Linked DNA regions of Homo sapiens: regions 1, 3, 4 and 5 are each linked to region 2. Evidence: promoter capture Hi-C in 16 types of primary human blood cells and fetal thymus (Javierre and others, 2016). All regions are on one chromosome and are shown on one strand. Each heading gives the region's core, a stretch centred on a gene start or on the middle of the fragment in contact. The rest is flanking DNA. Distances are from core to core; before and after follow the strand shown.

What was found. The method cuts DNA at HindIII sites, captures the fragments that hold promoters and counts their contacts. A CHiCAGO score of 5 or more calls a contact.
Region 1: a contact is called between a fragment that was not itself captured here and the fragment with the promoter of MAN1A2 in region 2, in 1 of 17 cell types (non-activated CD4 T cells). The highest score is 5.0, in non-activated CD4 T cells.
Region 3: a fragment that was not itself captured here is called in contact with the fragment with the promoter of MAN1A2 in region 2 in 2 of 17 cell types (total B cells and naive B cells); the score reaches 6.8 in total B cells.
Region 4: a fragment that was not itself captured here is called in contact with the fragment with the promoter of MAN1A2 in region 2 in 5 of 17 cell types (naive B cells, total B cells, megakaryocytes and 2 more); the score reaches 8.4 in naive B cells.
Region 5: a fragment that was not itself captured here is called in contact with the fragment with the promoter of MAN1A2 in region 2 in 1 of 17 cell types (activated CD4 T cells); the score reaches 5.5 in activated CD4 T cells.

The regions. Positions count from the first base shown.
Region 1 is chr1:116,768,136-116,771,899 of GRCh38, forward strand. CD2 (CD2 molecule) reads left to right here. Exons shown (of 5, transcript NM_001767.5): 5 at 329-1,094. The coding sequence ends at 648. Among named protein-coding and RNA genes, the nearest start is that of CD2, 16 kb to the left of the region's middle. RefSeq lists enhancers at 1,082-2,581, 1,082-2,381, 1,082-2,181, 1,514-2,043 and cis regulatory regions at 1,529-1,549, 1,617-1,640, 1,715-1,737, 1,812-1,843. The HindIII fragment of the contact is 2,122 bases long and covers 1,082-3,203 here.
Region 2 is chr1:117,365,496-117,369,580 of GRCh38, forward strand. It overlaps MAN1A2 (mannosidase alpha class 1A member 2), which reads left to right and starts at 1,954. Exons shown (of 13, transcript NM_006699.5): 1 at 1,954-2,990. The coding sequence starts at 2,689. RefSeq lists a silencer at 1,190-2,009 and an enhancer at 2,880-3,019. The HindIII fragment of the contact is 7,016 bases long and covers 1-3,458 here.
Region 3 is chr1:117,907,253-117,911,151 of GRCh38, forward strand. The region is part of intron 5 of GDAP2 (ganglioside induced differentiation associated protein 2); the gene reads right to left. Among named protein-coding and RNA genes, the nearest start is that of GDAP2, 20 kb to the right of the region's middle. The HindIII fragment of the contact is 1,244 bases long and covers 981-2,224 here.
Region 4 is chr1:117,888,472-117,892,570 of GRCh38, forward strand. The region is part of intron 8 of GDAP2 (ganglioside induced differentiation associated protein 2); the gene reads right to left. Among named protein-coding and RNA genes, the nearest start is that of GDAP2, 39 kb to the right of the region's middle. The HindIII fragment of the contact is 915 bases long and covers 2,315-3,229 here.
Region 5 is chr1:116,559,029-116,562,681 of GRCh38, forward strand. All of the region lies in intron 1 of CD58 (CD58 molecule), which reads right to left. It overlaps LOC105378925 (a long non-coding RNA gene), which reads left to right. Exons shown (of 3, transcript XR_947739.2): 3 at 1-2,159. It overlaps MIR548AC (microRNA 548ac), which reads right to left and starts at 1,083; the gene lies at 996-1,083. RefSeq lists enhancers at 651-890, 3,490-3,639. The HindIII fragment of the contact is 813 bases long and covers 1,972-2,784 here.

The DNA.
Region 1 (3,764 bases), core at 893-3,392, 600 kb before region 2:
GGAACAATTTCTAGGTCAGCACAGAGGTAGGGTTCCAGGTCTGCGTGCTCTCTCTGATCATGGGAGCCCCAGGCACAAAGCCCTCCACCCATGTGTCTTCTTCCTGCTGATTCCTTGAGTTCTCTTGTCCTAGGCTTTCACTCTACCTTATGGTGAGCACTTCTTTCTCTCCTACAAGCTTAGAGTTCTCAGATAGTAGGGGCAACTTCTGCTTCCTCATTGCATCCCCCAAAGCAGCTAGCATGGCGCCTTGCATATAAAAGGTACTCAATATTTACATTGATTTCACCTGGCCAAGATGAACTCTATTGAGGTTTTGTTGTTGCAGATGAGGAGCTGGAGACAAGAGCCCACAGAGTAGCTACTGAAGAAAGGGGCCGGAAGCCCCACCAAATTCCAGCTTCAACCCCTCAGAATCCAGCAACTTCCCAACATCCTCCTCCACCACCTGGTCATCGTTCCCAGGCACCTAGTCATCGTCCCCCGCCTCCTGGACACCGTGTTCAGCACCAGCCTCAGAAGAGGCCTCCTGCTCCGTCGGGCACACAAGTTCACCAGCAGAAAGGCCCGCCCCTCCCCAGACCTCGAGTTCAGCCAAAACCTCCCCATGGGGCAGCAGAAAACTCATTGTCCCCTTCCTCTAATTAAAAAAGATAGAAACTGTCTTTTTCAATAAAAAGCACTGTGGATTTCTGCCCTCCTGATGTGCATATCCGTACTTCCATGAGGTGTTTTCTGTGTGCAGAACATTGTCACCTCCTGAGGCTGTGGGCCACAGCCACCTCTGCATCTTCGAACTCAGCCATGTGGTCAACATCTGGAGTTTTTGGTCTCCTCAGAGAGCTCCATCACACCAGTAAGGAGAAGCAATATAAGTGTGATTGCAAGAATGGTAGAGGACCGAGCACAGAAATCTTAGAGATTTCTTGTCCCCTCTCAGGTCATGTGTAGATGCGATAAATCAAGTGATTGGTGTGCCTGGGTCTCACTACAAGCAGCCTATCTGCTTAAGAGACTCTGGAGTTTCTTATGTGCCCTGGTGGACACTTGCCCACCATCCTGTGAGTAAAAGTGAAATAAAAGCTTTGACTAGACCCGTGTCTGCTCATTGTGTGAAGGATCCCAGTGTCGAGGAGAGGAAGCTGCCGAATAAGAAAGAGCCTCGCTGGTGTGACAGCAGGATCAAATTCAGTCAACTCAATCCGGCTGAGACCTCCTTAGTCCTCACCAGAATGACCCGAACATGCTCCCCAGGTCTCAGCTGCAAAGCTGGGTCCAACAACCTATTTGTAGATTTCCATAATGAATTAAAGCCTCCATGCACAAACGTTAACAGGAGTCACCAGAAAACTTAACATTTTAGGTCTTACTTTCTTGACTGTTCAGACACGGTCATAATGACCTGTACTGTCATCCTTCAAAACAAGGGAATCTATGGATACTGGAGGTGTCATGAACTCATCAGATGACATACAAAAAGATAGGCTAAGAGACAACTCAGTTGAATCAAATCTTAAGTGTCTTAAATGACTATGATTAAAAGGTCAGACCCCATCCCCAGCTAGCAGTCATGCAGCTGTACTTTGAGGGAAGTGGGGAGAAAAAAATAGTTTTCAGTTAGAGTTCTAAAACAATAGGTGGTGAGAAGGCACCTGCTTTGAAATGCTGGTGCCTTGTCTGTGGTCCTGTCTGCCCGCCTTCTCCTTGGCTTCTTAGACTTGCTAAACCTTGTTACACTCTGGCAGGAAGCTCTGAGGGCTAAACCACAAAAACTAAGTACATTCAGGACTTCCTGTGACAGCTCACTGAGGATTGAACTACTTTTTCCTCTGAATCTGAGAGTCTATTTTTCCAGCAACCAGAGTTAATTACTAAGGGCAATGATGAATGAAACCTCATCGCCTCCCAAAATTCAAACACAAAATCCAGCTAGGTAACAATTGCCACAGGATCTACCCAGTAGAGAGATGAGGGCTCTGGCCGGGCATGGTGGCTCGTGCCAGTAATCCTAACACTTTGGGAGGCCAAAGCAGGTAGATCACCTGAGGTCAGGAGTTTGAGACCAGCCTGGCCAACATGGTGAAACCCCTTCTCTACTTAAAAAAAAAAAAAAAAAAATTAGCCGGGCATCGTGGCACGCACCTATAACCCCAGCTACTCGGGAGGTTGAGGCAGAATAATTGCTTGAACCCTGGGGTGTGGAGGTTGCAGTGAGGTGAGATCGTGTCACTTCGCTCTAGCCTGGGCAAAAGAGCAAAACTCCGTCTAAAAAAAAAAAGGAGAGAGAGAGAGAGAGAGAGAGAGAGATGAGGGTCCTAGCTCTGCCCCTTTCTCATTCTTCATGATACCCATGAGTGATTTCATTGGCTATCTCACCAGAACAGCTCATACGCCATTCCCTTAAGAAAATCTTCCCTGGTCTATTCAGCCCTGGGCTCTGCCTTTCTTCTGAACTCCTGTGGCATTACATATGGTACAAAACACATACACCCTATTCAATCCTTCATCGTTCATTCATTCAACGAACATTTATTGAACTTCTACTATGTGTCAGGCTCTGTGCTAGGCACTAGGAAAACAGAGGTGTACAATTGCATCTCTGCTTTCAAGGAGCTCACCACCTGGTAGGCAAGAAACGGACCAACCATGGGACAAATGCAATGCAGTATGATAAATATAGGTCAGAGGCAAGTGCATGAACCCAGAGGAAGGACTTTGAACCCAGACTGAGTGGTAAGACTGGGGTGACAAAGAGGGCTTCCTAGAGGAGGGACGTTTGGGTTGCGTTGTAATAGATTAATTGAACTGGTGAAGCAGAGGTACAGAATTACCCATGTAGAGGCAACAGCATGAGCAAGGCTCATTTGGCTTTCTGTTTACACAAACATGTAGTTTCTTTTTCAACTACTGTATTTAACTGATTTGAAGATGTCATTGATTTTTCAACTACTGTTTTCAACTTTTTGTATTTCTTTTTCTTTTTTAACAACTATATTTAACTAATTTGAAGATGGCATTGATTTTAAGTGGCATCATTCTTTTACATGCCACTAAGAAAGAGAAGAACACTTCTCAGTTGCATTGTAACAAATACTAAGATACAGTCAACTTTCAGTCACAATCCCATTCCTGAGATATTAAAATGTGAAAAAATGTTATTTTATGTTAGTGCATTTTAGAATTGATGAAATGCATAGTAAAGAAGCTTTTTGAGTACAATGACCATTTCTCAATATCGCTGCCAGCACTTTATTGAAGCTATCATTAGCCAATTGATTCAATGGGTGAGCCCAGTCCTGATGAAAGGAAGGGAAGTGAACATACACAACATGCTTGTCCTCCTTATCCAGGGAAGATAAGACAGATTCTCTGCCCTGCACCACCATTAGGTGGGAAACACGAACCTTGCTTAAGATTTGTGCTGCTGTCACCCACCTGTCTGACACTGTGTGACATCCCACTGAACCTGCCCCAGAGCATGGACATTCTGAGAAGTAGTCAGGCCAGCTGCGTAGGAATAGCTTGTAGAGCTTGTGAAAAAAAAAAAAATGCTGACACTTCTGTCAGTCAGGTTGGGGGCCAAATAAACATATTTTTAAACAACCTCTCCAGCTGATTCCAATGGGCATTCAAGTTGTAGACAACCTTGGAGACTATAGATAATGCAGTATTGTAAGAAAAATAAACAGTTGTAGCCCAGTTAGCTATTCCCCCACAAGCAAATCTCCAATAAGAAGGCCAACCATGTTGGAAAAAATATCCAC
Region 2 (4,085 bases), core at 704-3,203:
ACTAATGATCTCAACAGTAGGAAAACAGTGTGTTCTTCCCCGCCTCCCCACCGCCCCCCCCACTTTGGCTTACGGAGTCTCAACATTAGAGACTTATTCTTAAATTTGGCACATTTTATAAAGACATATTGGGAAGGCTAAAAGTTTCTTATATCTACTCTTCACAAATGTTCAACATAAATCTCACTAGGGACCGGGCACTCCTTGCTTACCAGTCTCCCTGGGTGAACTGGTGAGAGGTGGCCCTCAATATTTTTACTTTTTATTTGGTGAAGCAGGATCAATGACAATGACTTTTGTCATGTGGTAGGCAGTTAGATATGCAGAGCTTCTAGAAATAATGCAGACTGGGAGACTGGAATGTAGTTACAAGTGTGCCAATGAACATGAGACTTTTCTGCTTGATTTTTAAGCTAAGGCTGACTTACTCTCCTGACATTTAAGGGCCTCCTCTCCAATTCCCAGTCATCAGTAAAGGATGTGTACAGGGAATGACAATATTAGAACAAAAACAACCTGCAAGTAAATCGGATGCAAGAGTCTATGTATCTTGCAAGGAAATCTTTTGCACTTAATCACAACATGGCTCTCCTCAATACTACGGAGAACAGAATTGATTCAGATTGTTTTTAAGCCTGAACGTAAACAATATTGTCGCCTTTTTGGGTTTCAGCACCTCCTTATTCATCCATTTTCTCTTTTATGGGAAGGGGGTTGATGAGGTGTGTGAAGATGATAGAACGTGCCCCAGAAACTGAACAATGAAGAGACGCCTGTCATATCGGGGGTACCTAGATTCCTCTGAAAGGAAGCCCAGCTGAAGGAGCAGGGTCACCACTTTATTTTAAAAACGTAACATGGCACATGTTGGTGCTCTATTAATCGAGCCTCGGGGGCCCAATAACGTGAGCATGGGCTGCTGCGTGGAAGTTTGAGACCCTGTTGCTGAATCCTCGGGCCTGACGGTCTATCGCTGAAGACAAGACTTCCAAAGAATCACAGTAAACGTTAACCTAAGCCATCAGAAGCCATTAACTCCGGTGACACTACATTTCAGCGAAACCTTCGCGACCCAACCCCTCGCTCCCTCTCGCCCAAACGCTGGGTCAACCCCACGAACTGGCGGTGGCAAGGCCCTGGGCACCGGTGAAGTTCTCGTGGCAGCGCAGATCGGCGACCTTCTCTTCTTTCGCGCTCAGACGGCGGCGGCAGCAGTACGCTTTCGGGCTGCTGGAGCCGGCAGCGGCGCGAGGCCGGAGCCCGGGCAGCCAGGCTGGGTGGGGGAGGGGCGGCGGCAGCGGAGCCGGGAGCGTGCGCGCGCACCTCACACTCCGCCGCCCGGGGACGCCCACTCGCGAGCCGGGGCCGGTAGGCCGGCCCGGGTCCCATCGCCCCCGCCCTCCGGTTCCTCTCCGGCGTGAGCCCAACGGGTGTCGGCCCAGCAGCTGCTGCGCTCACCAGGCCTGGGGAGGCAGGGTACGGGGACCGGGCCGCAGCCCCGAGCGGCGTGGGCGCGCTGCCTCTCTGGCAGCCGCCGCCAGAGCCAGCAGCTGCGAGCCACCGGAGGCGGCGCGGAGGAGGCCCCCGCGGCCGGGCAGGAAGGAGACGCGGCCGACCTCTGCCCGCCCGAGGCGCGGCTGCTCCCGCGCGCCCAGGCCCTCCCGCCGCTCCAGGGCTGAGTGAGGAATGAGCCGGCGCCTACCCCGGGCTCTCGGAGCGTGGGCCCCGGCTCGGCTTCTTAGGCGCGAGGGCTCGGCCACTGCGGCCGGCGGCCTAGCTCGGGGAGCAGGCGCCGGGGTTCACTGAACCGGCCGCGGAGAGGAGGAGGAGGAGGAGGAAGAGGAGGAGGAGGAGGAGGAGGAGCTCGGCGGGGGCGGCCGCCGCGCCTCCCCTCCCCCAGGACACGCCGGGGCTTCTCAGTGGCCGCCGGAGGAGGAAGTTCCGCTCCCTGACAGACCCGTGCGGTAGCAACAGCGGCGGCGGCCGCGGCGGCTGGCCGGACTCAGGTGTTTCGGACGCTATTGCCCTTCGCGCCAGCCGTCGAGTGGGCAGCAGCGGGACTCAGCCGGGCGCCAGGTTCCTGCCAGGCAGCGCCGGGAAGCGCGGGCGGCCGAGAACTCCTTCCTGCTACTTCGCCCAGCGCCGCTGCTTCGGCTTCCCAGCGAAGTGGGAGACCTTCCTCCCTGTTTGCAGACGTCCGTGGGAGACCCTTATTTTTTCCACCGCTAAGGTTAAGAGATTCTGGAATAGAAGCGTCGAAGGAGATCAAGTGAACCTTCTACAACTCCTCGGATGTCGCCAGTCTCCCTTTCGGGGCGGAAGACTACGTTTGAGCATCTCACTGAGGTGCAGGAATGGAAGAACCCACCTTGCAGCTTTTCTGCAGTGTGGCTTGCCTGATCTACCCCTAGGAATGAAGAGGAGGCTTGTAATAATCCGATGAAGTACAGATGTTGAAGAGGATATCGCAGGACCTAAACTTGTGATCGTTTGGGGGAGGTCACACACGTTTCTGAGTGGGAATGGATGGGCGTGAATGACGTGCCCTCTTAAAAAGCACAACAGTCCTTTAAGAGGAGCAAAATTGAGTTTTCCCATTTTGGCCAAGATTTTGAAGACAGTTCAATGTATTCTACATTTGACATAAGATGAGAACTTTCTAAAGTATTCTCTCCAAGAGCGTAAACGATGACTACCCCAGCCCTGCTGCCCCTCTCTGGACGTAGGATACCACCTCTGAACCTGGGGCCGCCTTCCTTCCCACATCACAGGGCTACCTTGAGACTTTCTGAGAAGTTTATTCTTCTCCTTATTCTTAGTGCCTTCATCACTCTGTGTTTTGGGGCATTCTTTTTCCTTCCAGACTCTTCAAAACACAAACGCTTTGATTTGGGTTTAGAAGATGTGTTAATTCCACATGTAGATGCCGGTAAAGGGGCTAAAAACCCCGGAGTCTTCCTGATCCATGGACCCGATGAACATAGACACAGGTTTGTTTATTTCAGAAGTTCTGGTACTAACATTTGGCAGAGCAAGGTACGGTGATTGGATCGAATCTGTCTTTTTTTTTTCTTGCAGTAAAATGTAATTTTTCGAGTCATAAATATTGTATTGTTACTTCAAGACTGGCTGAATAAAACCATAGACTGGAGGGACTCTACCTCCAGTCTATGGTAGAGTCCATAGACTGGTAGGACTGGAGTCCTACCTAAGTCGTTCTTCTCTTCGGTTTTATATAAGAAAAACATTTGCGTTCAGAGTTGTGTCTAATGTGGACATCTGGGAAGGGAGGTATGAAAACTTAACCTAAAGAAATGGTGACATAAGCTGTGCCTGCATTTATTAATAACGTGTTGGAGTCAGTCATTGTGCCACCATGTGAAATCAAAGCATCGAACCTTGACAGCTCTTTTGGGTGTGCTCTCCCAGAGGGCTCTCGTTTTCTGGCTTGTAGTTGAAGCTTAGTAGTGAGTCAGCTTTTTAGGATGACAAACGTGGGCAGAATATACCTGTCATTTCTTAACGTGAAAATATCCTGATTTTTGTTCTTTTTTTGGGGATGTGTGTTGGTGCTGTATATGAAATCAGTTAAGTTAAAAGGTATTGAATCCTAAGTTATTGCACTTTGTGAGGCTTGTAGACAAGATTTATTTTTGTGAAACTTAATTTTGCTCTCTCTTTTAATGTAATAGATGGACTGTGTCAAGCAACTATTGGAATTTGGTTGATTAAGGGGTTCACATTCTTTCAGATCACTAAATCTAAAGTGAGCTCTGGGGAGAGCATAGCCAAACTAGGATAAAATGGGAGCTCTAGTTACAATTTTTATAATTTTTATATTTGTACTCAAGAGTTTGGGAAAGTAGTTGACTTTTCTTAAACCTGCCATCTTTTCCTTGTTTCTTAAAATAATTCTTGAGTATGTGGGAAAAAAAATCATGTGCTTGAATTCATTTCCCATCTGATGATAGTTTTAACTTTTTGTCAAGCACCGAAAAAGCTTAGGTTCACGTGTAAGCCTACATTAAATATTTGGGAAAATGCACTGTTTTATGAGAACTGGTTTTTCTTTTTTTCTCAACCTA
Region 3 (3,899 bases), core at 353-2,852, 540 kb after region 2:
CCCCCAGGGTTCTGCCTTCAATATTTTTTATTTTTTTGATATACTTATTCTCCTTAGCTCACTGATGTGCTGGATAGGTATTACCTCAAATGCTGATGGCTCCCAAATCTTTATATTCTTTATTCTGAGGAAAAGACCCAAATTACCTGATGCCTATTAGGTATATCTGCTTAGATAACTCACAGAGACCTCAAATTCAGTGTAGCCAAATTTGACCCCAACAGGTCCAAATCCTGACCGCCATCTTTTTCCGAACAAACCTGGTCCTTTTTACCTACATTCCTTATTTTGGTTACATATCAACATCCAACCAATCATCCAAGCTAGAATCCTGAATTGTCTTTGATGCTTCCTTTACCTCTTCCTTCATGCTGCATTTTCAAATAGTTCCCATGACTTTTAATTCTATTGCTAATATTTCTAACATTTATTCCTTTCTTTTGGCTGCTTTCAGGTTCTCAAGGCTCACACAGACTTTGGTAATAAGCTCTTAACTGCTCTCCTTGCGTCTTTTTTCCGCAAGTCTACATACTCACTGTTGCCTGAGTTATCTTCTCATGTTACCCGAGTTATCTTCTCATGTTACCCTTTTTAATAAACACTGGTGATGCTCTGCACTACTTACAGGTTAAGATTCAAAAACCCTAGCATGACTCTCTATACTCCAACGCCAACTGTCCACTTTCCCCCACTCAGCTCTTTAGTCCTGTTTTCAATTATTCCTCCCACATCTTATGCTTTAGCCAAATCTACTTTGCTGTATTCAAAACATACCACTTACTTTTATGATGCCCTGCCTCTGCTTGCATGTGCCTACCTTTGACTAGAGTACCACTCATCCACCATTCTCTTCTTTTGGTGAACTCCTACTCATTTTTCAAGACCTAGCCAAGAGCCATCTCCACCCTTCTTTATGCCCCTCCTAGAATCTTTTGAACACCCTTCATTTTAAGAATTTCTCACATTTTATAGCTAGACTAAGCTTTTTGAAGACCAAGTATATTTTATATTAATATTACTTTAATTTGGGGCCTAGCACACCTTACGGATGTGATATGCAATCATTCAAAAGTAACTAGTAACTGAATTAACAATTTATGGCTCAGTTACATATTGCCTGCTTTGTTCAACACTGTATCTCAAGAACCTAACAGAGCAAACCTATTTGTTAAAGGACTAAACAAACACTCATAACTCTCCTCCTGTTAGATGACAAATTTACTTTTTATTTTTTCCTCTATTCTGCTTTAATGCTTTTTCAAAAACGAACTTTCAAAAAAAGATTTTCAGCAGGACATGGAGGCTCATGGCTATAATCCCAGCACTTTGGGAGGTGAGGGCAAGACGATTACTTGAGCCTGAGTTCAAGACTAGTTTGGGCAACATAGCGAGACCCTGTGTTTACCAAATTTTTTTTAAAAAATTAGCTAGGTATGGTGACGCATGCCTGTAGTCCTAGCTACCTGGGGGGCTAACAAGGGAGGATCACTTGAGCCCAGGAGGTTGAGGCTGCATTGAGCTGTGTTTGCCCCACTGCACTGCAGCCTGGGCGACAGTGTATGACTCTATCTCAAAAAAATAAATAAATAAATAAATAAATAAATAAAGATTTTCTGTTTCCTATTTATTTGACACCAAGTTGTAATGTTCATGCATAATAGTTTCCCAGAATATAATTATATTATTTCCTTTGGAAGATAAAATACAATACCAAATAGCAACCAAATTGAATTCTCTCAGTGGAATTCATTTAGAAAATTAACTCTGCAAAAGCAGTGAAGAAGACTAATGTCATGACTCTAAGGTTTTAGTACTAAAGGCCAGGCCACGCTCTTCCTTTCAAAGTTTCATCTGTGCACTATACTCTGCAACCAACCACAATGTCCTGTGCTTAAATACCTAGTGAATACCCTATAATTTGTAAGAATGACATCTAGGACATTATAATTCCCCATCTGGAAACACCACGAGAACAAACACCTTCATCTTATTTCTCACCACTGTAGTATTTTGTATACAGCACATAGTAGTCACTTAAATTTTTGTTGGATGAATAAATAACCTGATAAATTTATTTCAATGCAGATATTTCTTTAGGCTTTTTCTGGAGAAAAACAAACTGCACATGAACTAAGAAAAAAAAAGCACGTGTCTTAATATATCTATCAAAAACATATTATTTAGGCTTCAAATGAAATAAATTTTGATAATAGTTTAATAAGAAAGCTTTTGATACTAAGGACTTCGAGTTATATCATTAGATTTGTTCTTGGCCCATATATGTTACAAAAGTGTATAAGCCATTTGTTTTCCAAATGCTTGATAAAGTATTCAAGCAAAAGGCATCATCTTCTGTGTAAGTGTTTGAATGAAATGCTACAGTTTTGCCACTAGATTTAAGGCCTAATAAGTCAAATGTGCCCACTTTTTAAGAGCTGTACATTTCCTTTTTGCTAATTATATTTCTAGAAACTGCTTCATCAAAGTCCCTTATACCCATTATTGATCTTTATCTGCTGTTACTCTCAAAGTTGACCTCTTTCATAGTACTGTATCAAGTGATTTGTCTGGGGCCACAGAGCTAGAGTTGGACTGGTAGAATTAGAACTAAAAACCAGTCTTCTTAACCCCCTATTCAGAACCTTTTCTACAAAATAATGCTGCCTCTTTAAAATAGAATCCTTATGATTACCTTAATAAAAAATAGATATATAAAAGAAGCTATGAGATGATATGACAAGGACTAAGTAAAATCAGAGAATGCAGAGACCAGCCAAAAGCCTTGTCAGGAGCAATTATATCAAGGGAGGAATTTTGCTTTCGTTAGGTACCATTTAGAAGATAGGCATGTAATAACATAGTAGTCTTCCACTGAAGCAGTTCTAACTCAAGCATAATGAATCATCTAGTATAACAGACAGGTTACTAGACCTGGGAGTCAGAAGGTCTGGATATATGCTCCAAGTCTGCATAACCCTCATAACAGGAGAAATTTCTGAGACCTTTTATTTGTACAACGGACACCACACTACCTAAAACACAGGGTTGTTAAGTAAAGTAAGTGGAATTTACTTGTCCCTTTTAAAAATATATATTTCTTGAGCAAGTACCATATGTCAAGCATTCAAGATAAAAAGATAAGATCCCTGCCCCTCAAGCTCAGTCTAATGTAATGTATATAAGCTTAATTATAAAATATACAAATTTACTATAAAATCCTTGAGCAGTTAGAATATTGGTTTTTAAAATAGGTTATAATTAAATAAGACTAAGACTGAACAGATACTCACCCTAAACTCCAGGCTACATAATAATAACTTATACATTCAAATATCTTTTTGGTATTTGTGGATATAAGGCTTTCAGCTCTTCGACTTTAAATTCTAGAGATAACAGGGGCTCTTAAAGATGATTTAGTATAGTTCGTCTCTGAAATGAGAAGTGTTTTCTATAACAGCTGCAACAGATGGTCCTGTAACCTCTGCATGAATGTTCCTAGTGACAAGAAGTTCGCTAAAATACTTTGCTGTTACAGTTAGTACTACTTCAAGTGGGACCAACATTTTCTTCCTTATAACTTGGTCTTAGACCTTGCCTTGTACAGTTGGAGTTCTTATCTACAATCCTGATGAGGATCTGTAAACTTCCTGAAATAACATGCAAATTCTGTATTTATGCACATTTTTCTTGACAAAGGGTCCATAGTGTTCTTTCACCAGATGCTCATCGTAGTTTATGACAATATCCCAAAGAACTGCTGCTTGAAAAATGTAGCACAGAATAAGTCCAAATGAGATTCCTTCAGATATTTGAAGATGGACATCATATTTGCTAAAAGCATGCTCTTCTTTAGAAGAAACACCACTACTGTTTCAAACTGTTTGTCCTCCTGTTTGTCA
Region 4 (4,099 bases), core at 1,522-4,021, 520 kb after region 2:
AGATTAATGGTCAAGTTCATCTCAGACTTCCCAGCCTATTAAATAGTAGAGTTGAATTTGAAGTTGCACTCAGGTCTCTAGATTTCCGGAAAGGTCAGTGCTTTTTCTACTATATCATACTAATTTCTTGAAATTAAAAGTGCCAATTACTTGATTGTGAAAACGCTTTCAAGACACCTAAATGTAGGAAAAGCAACTCTGAAGTGTCTAAATCATATATGGCAATATCCAGTAACAACAACAACAAAAAGCACAACTAGGAGAGGGGAGATTTGGCTTCTAATCCTACTGCTTTCGGTGCAAACTTACTAAAGTCATTTACCTTTATGGAATTCAGTTTCCTCACCTGCAAAATGGTGTTCATATGGGAGGGACACCTTTCAGCTATAAAGTACAATTGCACAACTGAAAATATTTAATGGGAAGTCTGTCACATACAGACTGAAATCAACAAGTGACATGCCTGTTAGTTTCACAGATATTGTTACTGCTTGTAAAAAACACAGTGTTACTGCATTAGTTCTATAGACTGCCTTCTCAAATTTGTGATTTACCAATCTATGCAAATTGAAAAGTCAAAGACAGTAGCTTTTAATTTTGTTTCAAAATATAATTTCAAAGTCAAGAAAATGCCTATGTTTATTGTAGTTCTCCCTAAATCATATGCACTATTCCATATTTTCATACAGTCATTTCCTATTTACACTAAATCAAAATTCTATTTCTTTACTTAAAAAATTATTTTCTTTGACAAATAATGTATGTAATGTATTGATATACGGATACATTGTAAAATGGCTGAATCAAGCTAATGAACATATCCATTATCTCACATATTTATCATTTTTTTTTGGTGAGAACAGTTAAAATGTATTCTTTTATCAATTTTCGGGTATACAACACATTCTTATTAACTACAGTCACCGTATTATATAATAAATCTCTTATTCCTCTCGTCTAACTGAAATTTTGTATTCTTTGACCAACATCTCCCCAATCCCACCCCAATACCACCAGCATTTGATAACCACTTTATTCTCTGTTTTTCTGAGTTCAGTTTTTTTAGGTTCTACATATAAGTGAGATCATGCTATATTTGTTTTTCTGTGCTTGACTTATTTCACTTAACATACTGTCTTATATCTTTAGTATGAAGGTTAAAAGACAAAACTATTAATAATAGCAACAATAATTTGTTAAGAGACAAAAATAATATAAAAACGTAAATTATGACATCAAAAATGTGGCAGTGAAGAATAAAAGTATAGAGTTTATTATGTTTTTTAAATCATTCTATTATATACTAATTGTTTATAATGAGACTAAACAGCAAAATGTATATTACATCATATGGGCACCACAGTATCTAGCACAAAGCATATAACAGGATTCAATTAATACCTATTAACTTCTATACTCTGTTCATGTATCCATTGGCTCATTTTTCAAAGATTTATTGAATAAATGCAGTGTTTGCATCATAGTAGGTACTAAATTCTTTGCTAAATGAAATAATAAACATGAGTATTATGTAAGGTATTTTGGGGCCTGAGATGAATTAAAAAAGGCTCTTGAGTTTAAGGTTGCATATGTGAGACAGACATATTACAGTACGAAGAAAATTAACTTTGTAATAAGAACAAGACAGGTAACCAGAAGTCTAAATACTCTATCAATCAAATATGTATGCTGAGAAGGGGACTGGTGGTGGGGAAGGAGGTGGGGTGAGAAGGAGCAGAGTGGAGGCAAATTCTAGACATGTCGTAGAAACAAATGCTCCCTTCTTTGTATCCCCAAAGACTTCTACCATGTTCAGTGCAAGATTTTACACACTTATTGAAAAGGCTATTTCTATTACATTAGACCACCAGATAGACAATATGTCATATTTGTCTCTCATTTCTAGCCAATTCCTAGGGTAGTTCCTGACACTCAATCTCTATATCTATATCTATATCTATCTATATTCAATGAACTCTGAAAAAAATTTTTTTTAACTGGAACTCAGGTGTACAAAATGGAATACATCATCTTTAATTGAAAACACTCGCATAACTGGTATATGCATGGTCCACTTAGAAGACTAGTTATATAATTATTTATCTTTAATGAAGTAATAAGCACCCTAAAATCTACCACTATAACAAAAATTAGCACTTTCACAATAACCTTCATCTAACCATGTGCTACTTCCCACCGTTATCTGGAATTCCAGGTTAATCATTTATTGCTTTCCTTTTTATATTGTTTTAAATTCATCTACATGTAGTCAATGTAAGACATTATTTTTTGTTTGTTTCTAACTATTTAAAAAAGCTTATCATGCTGTATGTAATCTCTTGGGTCTTACATTTTTGACTTATCATATTGCTAACATTCATCCGTATCACTGGATTTCAATGTCGTTGATTGATTTGGACAATCACAGGTTGAGCATCCCAAATCCAAAAATACAAAATCTGAAATGCTCCAAAATCCAAAACTTTCTGAGTGCCAACATAACAATTAAAACAAAAATGCTCACTGGAACATTTCGGATTTTTGGGATTTGGGATGTTCAACTGGTAAGTACGATACAAATATTTCAAAATCCAAACAAATCAGAAATCTGAAACACTTCTGGTCCCAAGAATTTTGGATATGGCATACTTAATCTGTATATATCATGTATTCATACTAGATAAAAACTATAGATTTTTTTCATTCACTCTCTCACTGATGGGCACTTGGGCTGTTTCCAGGGTTTTGCTATTGTGAAGAGGGCTACAATCAACTTGTTTTGCGTGTCTCCTGGTATACATGTGCATGATTGCTCTTGAGTAGGTACCAATGAGTGAAAGTGCTAGGTTACAGGGAATGTTTAATTTTAGGAGATAAGGACAAACCTCTTTTCCAAAGCATTGCACCAAATTATACTTCTATAAGAAGCATATGAGACTGTGAATCCCTGTCCTCACCAACACTTGCTACTATTAGATGTTTTAGTGTTTGCCAGTTGGATAGGTTAGAAATGGTAAAGCATTTCTCTGGTCAGTAATGAGGTTGAGATTCTGCTCATGTTGACTTGATTCTATGAGATGCCTGTTCCTATCATTTTTCCATTTTTTATTGGGTTATTTGATTGTTTCTCACCAAGTTGTAGTTCTTTACACATTCTTGATGCTGATCATTTGTTGTGTGTTTTGTGAATATCTGCCCCCATTCCGTAACTTGCTTTTTACTTTGTTTAAGCTTGGCTCTACTTTCAAAAGTTCTTAATTTTAATATAGTCAAAACTATTTTTTCTTTGGTGGTAAATGCTTTTCATGTCTTTAAAAAAATCTTCCCTTTCTCTAAGGTTTGAAGGATACTAGCTTAACTTCTTCCACAGGTTTCAGAATTTTTAAAAATTTAAGTCCTTAATCTATCTAAAGTTGATTTGTCCATAGTGTGAACACAGAATTAGTATAAACTCTAAAATGTTTAAACCTTGATTGATGATTAACAACTTGAGATCTAAAGATAGACTTTGGTTGACAAAATCTCTATGAACATATTTGTGGGGAGAAGTTTATAGTTTACATCAGATTCTTAAAGGGTTCATGATTTTTAAAAGGTTAGAATCACTGCTGAGACACTGGTCCTGTTCTGGTTTCTAAGGACCATGCAACAACTCATGATTGCAATCTTCATCAGGTTTCTTCTTTATTCTAATTAAGTCTCTGCCATTACCACTATAGATTGTGTAAGTCTGATTATTTAGTCATTATTTTAAAAAAATCACCAGTTGGGAAGAAAGAGTAAAAGCAAAAAGACTGTTACTCTTCTCACTCAATAGACAATACCCTCCTTTTTTTCTAAACTTCATTATTCAAAGAATATTTCATGTTTTCTATTACATTTCTTATAAACAGCACCTCACTTTTTGCTATAGTGTTTTGTTTTGTTTAAAGGAAGACATGCAATCTTTTGTTCCAATCCAAAAATCAAAACAAAGCTAAAAGGAAAATATGAACTCAAAATAGTTTCTGGGTTTCCTACAGGATATTTCCTAAATATCCTATATAGAGTACTTTCTTATTCCAAATAAACAAACTTCTATTATTTTATGAGTAAATAT
Region 5 (3,653 bases), core at 1,128-3,627, 810 kb before region 2:
AATAAATGAAAAAGTAAATATCTTTTATTTGGATGATGTTGGATGATGTTAAGTGCTATAGAGAAAAATAAAGCAGAGTGTGGGGGCTGAGGAGTACTGGTAAGGAAAGGAGTTGGATGGCATGGGGGGCAGTCATAAGTTGGCATCTGAGCAGAGTCCAGAAAAGCAGGGGAGCGAGCCTAAGAACATCTGGGGTGAGAGTGAGAAAGGAGTTATTTCTTGAGAACACGCCTATCAAAGTAAGGTGGTTTGCTCCGCTGGACACTTGGTTGATAGAGAAGGTCAAAGATTCCGAAGCACCAGGCTACAGATGAAGAAATGGACTGAGAGGGTCAGCTGACTGCATTCACTCAGCTAGCAAGGGGCAGAGCTGGTGTCCAGACACAGGCAGTCGGCCCCAGAGCCTGCACTGTTGGCCAGAACATCAGATGCCTTGGTTGGGGCCATTCCTCTTTTTTCCTGATCGATTCCACCCTTAGCCGGTCCCAGTTAGTGACTTCTCTTATTTCCTTAAGACAGAGATTTACTGATTTCAGCCACACCACCACCAGTTTCCCTGCCCTCATCTACTTCATACTGAAACTGCAGCCACCTGTCTCCCAACGGTTACAAACCCTCGGTCCCCAAGGCCAGAGCAAGGTTCCCGGACCTTGCTCTCAGCTGTCAATCTGCCTCCTCGATAAGTTCATCAAGAATTAAGATGTTGGTTCTCTAAATCAACTTCTTTCTGTACTTTCCTTCTAATATGATGCTAAAATAGTTTCCTTTTTAATTCTTGTTCTTGCACTTAACCTATTTCTTCTTTCTCAAGATGTTTCCCTTTAGACCTATGCAATCCATCAAAGTAGCTACCAGCTACAAGTGGCTAGTGAGAACCTGAAATATGGTTAGTTCAAATGGAGATGTGTTCTGAGTATCAAATACACACCAGAATCTGAAGACCTGGTATTAAAAAGTGGAACATAAAATCTCTTGTTAATATTTTTTTGTAGTAACTACTAGGTTAGTGCAAAAGTAATTGCCGGTTTTTGCCATTAAAAAAAAATAGCAAAAACCACAATAACTTTTGCACCAACCTAATACATGTCGAAATGAAAATATTATGGATATATTAGGTTAACTAAAATATATTATTAAAATTAATTTCACATGTTCCATATTATACTTCTATTTGAGAGCACTTCTTTAGCCTGTTGTTTCAAGACACTCACATCCCACCTTTCTCAAAGGCCACATTTGTCTTTGACTGTTCTCACCTTAGATAGGATACAGCTGAGATCCACAGTATGCTTTAGGGAATAAGGTTCTTACTAGATCGGTTAAGGCTGTGAGTGTTTTTAAATCTATTCTCCAAAGTCTGATTCAAGGTATTTCAATACAGTACTGATCATTTCACTAAAATTCCTTGAGAATCCTTGTTATTTTCTAGATACTCAGTTCATCGTTGGGAAACTCTATTGCAAGTAGTTTACAATGGCACAGCCTCATTAGTTTCTTATTAATCTGATTTTTTATTTTTTTCTGAATGTGTATGTTAAACTTCAATTTTCTTCTAATTTTTAACTGGCATAGGAAGAAAATGTTCAAGAAACTACAGACTGGTCAGCCCAGTGGAAATTCAGGCACTAATCTCAACAGACATTTTGGGGAACATTGTAAAGTAAGCAAAGTTCACTAGAACCTATAAAGTAACCAAAAAGCATTTTCCTTGGAGGCTGATGGGCAGGCACTGAAAGTTATCTCCAAAGAGGAACTGCTAAAATGTTTTCCCCTCCTTTTCTAGGGACAGTCTCTGTATCTTATAGTCACACTTTATATTCAAACCTGAACTTATCTGAGAAAAGAGAAACGGCTGCATCCTGGTTTCACTTACAACCCTGAGATGGAAGTTGAGATTTGTCATTGCAGAATTTAAGGGTCTGTGTCCTTAAGTAAAACCTTCTGGTCACCCCTCAAGTAAAGCTTCAAAAAAGCTTAGGCACTTGTGCAGAAACAGCATGAGAAGAAACCAAAAGGCAGAAAACTTACACATATAAGGGCTGATTTATGCAAAGTTTCTACTTTTAAACAGAGAAACCAATACCTACCCTCAAAGCCTGTATTTACTAAAGAAATGTTAGAGTGACAAGGAGGTCAATAAAATAAATTATTCAAATCTGGTTCTTAAAAAGAGGTTCTAAGACTATTTTAAAACTTCTGAAAGATGCCCATCAAAATTAAAACAAAAAAACATAGCAACGAATACAATGAGTGAAACTTGATTAGATCCGGGTTTTTTAACAAAAGACACTCTTGTGACAAGTGGGGAAATCTGAATACGGGTAAAAGTTAGGTGATGTTACAGGATTAGTGTTAATATTTATAGATGTTATGATGTTATTGAGATTATGCAAAAGTGTCTAGGAGTGAAATGTGGGTACCTAGAGAATGTAAATATAATAATGTTAATAATAAATATGTCAATAAATTGCCATTGTAAATTCTATGTCCCAAAGAAGCACCCCTCACCATTACAAATTATGATATTAAATACAATTTTGCATGACTGGTAATTGTGCTGACCTATATTTCCCATGTTTTAGCAGAATTTCATTGGACAATGTATACATGTTGGATATAAGAAATCAGTAGTACTCATCTTCAAAAAGTTGCTTAGTGGATCTCAGGCTAGGGATACAACAGAGCATATAAAGGAATAGGTTCTGATTCAGAGAGAATCAAAGTTCAAGTTCACTCTGCCACTTATTTGCTGTGTGAACTTGGACACATTACTGAACCTACCTAAGCTTTGTTCTCCTATTAAATGTTCCCTATGTAATAAAATCAGTGTGACAATTAAATAAAAACATCTCAAATCTGAAGCATAGCTCCTGGCACAGAGCAGGTACTTACCTCCTAGTGGCTATTATTACTTACACTCTGTTATAACACTGGGCCTAGTTTTCCTATAGGAACACACAACACTATTTTAACTTGGATTATCTTTGCTAAATAAAAAAACACAGACTGTCTAAGTCTCAACTCCAGCAAAGCACATGAACAAGTCTCACATAATAATGTGAGATAATTTCAAATGGAGAAATGCTGGACAAATACATTGTCATCTAATGTTCAGATTCAACAATCTTTACTATTAAAAAAAAACAGATCAATATAAGGAAAATTTTAAAAAATAATACATGACTTCTGCATACAAGGAACTTAAAATCTAGTTATGCAGATAGTTGGCAATAAAGGATCTGTAAAATGTCAACAACAGCAGAATAAGACAGACTCTGTTAATAATAAAATAGTTCCTACCTTTTTATTTTTTATTTTTTTGCTCTGTTACCCAGGCTGGAATGCAGTTGTGTCATCATGGCTCACTGCAGCCTCAAATTCCCAGACTCAAGCAATTGCCAGGCTCATCTCAGCCTCCTGAGTAGCTGGGACTACAGGCGTGCACCACCACACCTGGCTAACTTTTTGTAGAGATGGGGTGTATTAGTCCATTCTCGCACTGCTAATAATGACATACATGAGACTGGGTAATTTATCAAGGAAAGAGGCTCAATGGACTCACAGTTCCACATGGCCAGGGAAACCTCACAATCATGGCAGAAGGCAAAGGAGAAGCAAAGTCATGTCTTAATGGTGGCAGGCAAGAGAGAGCG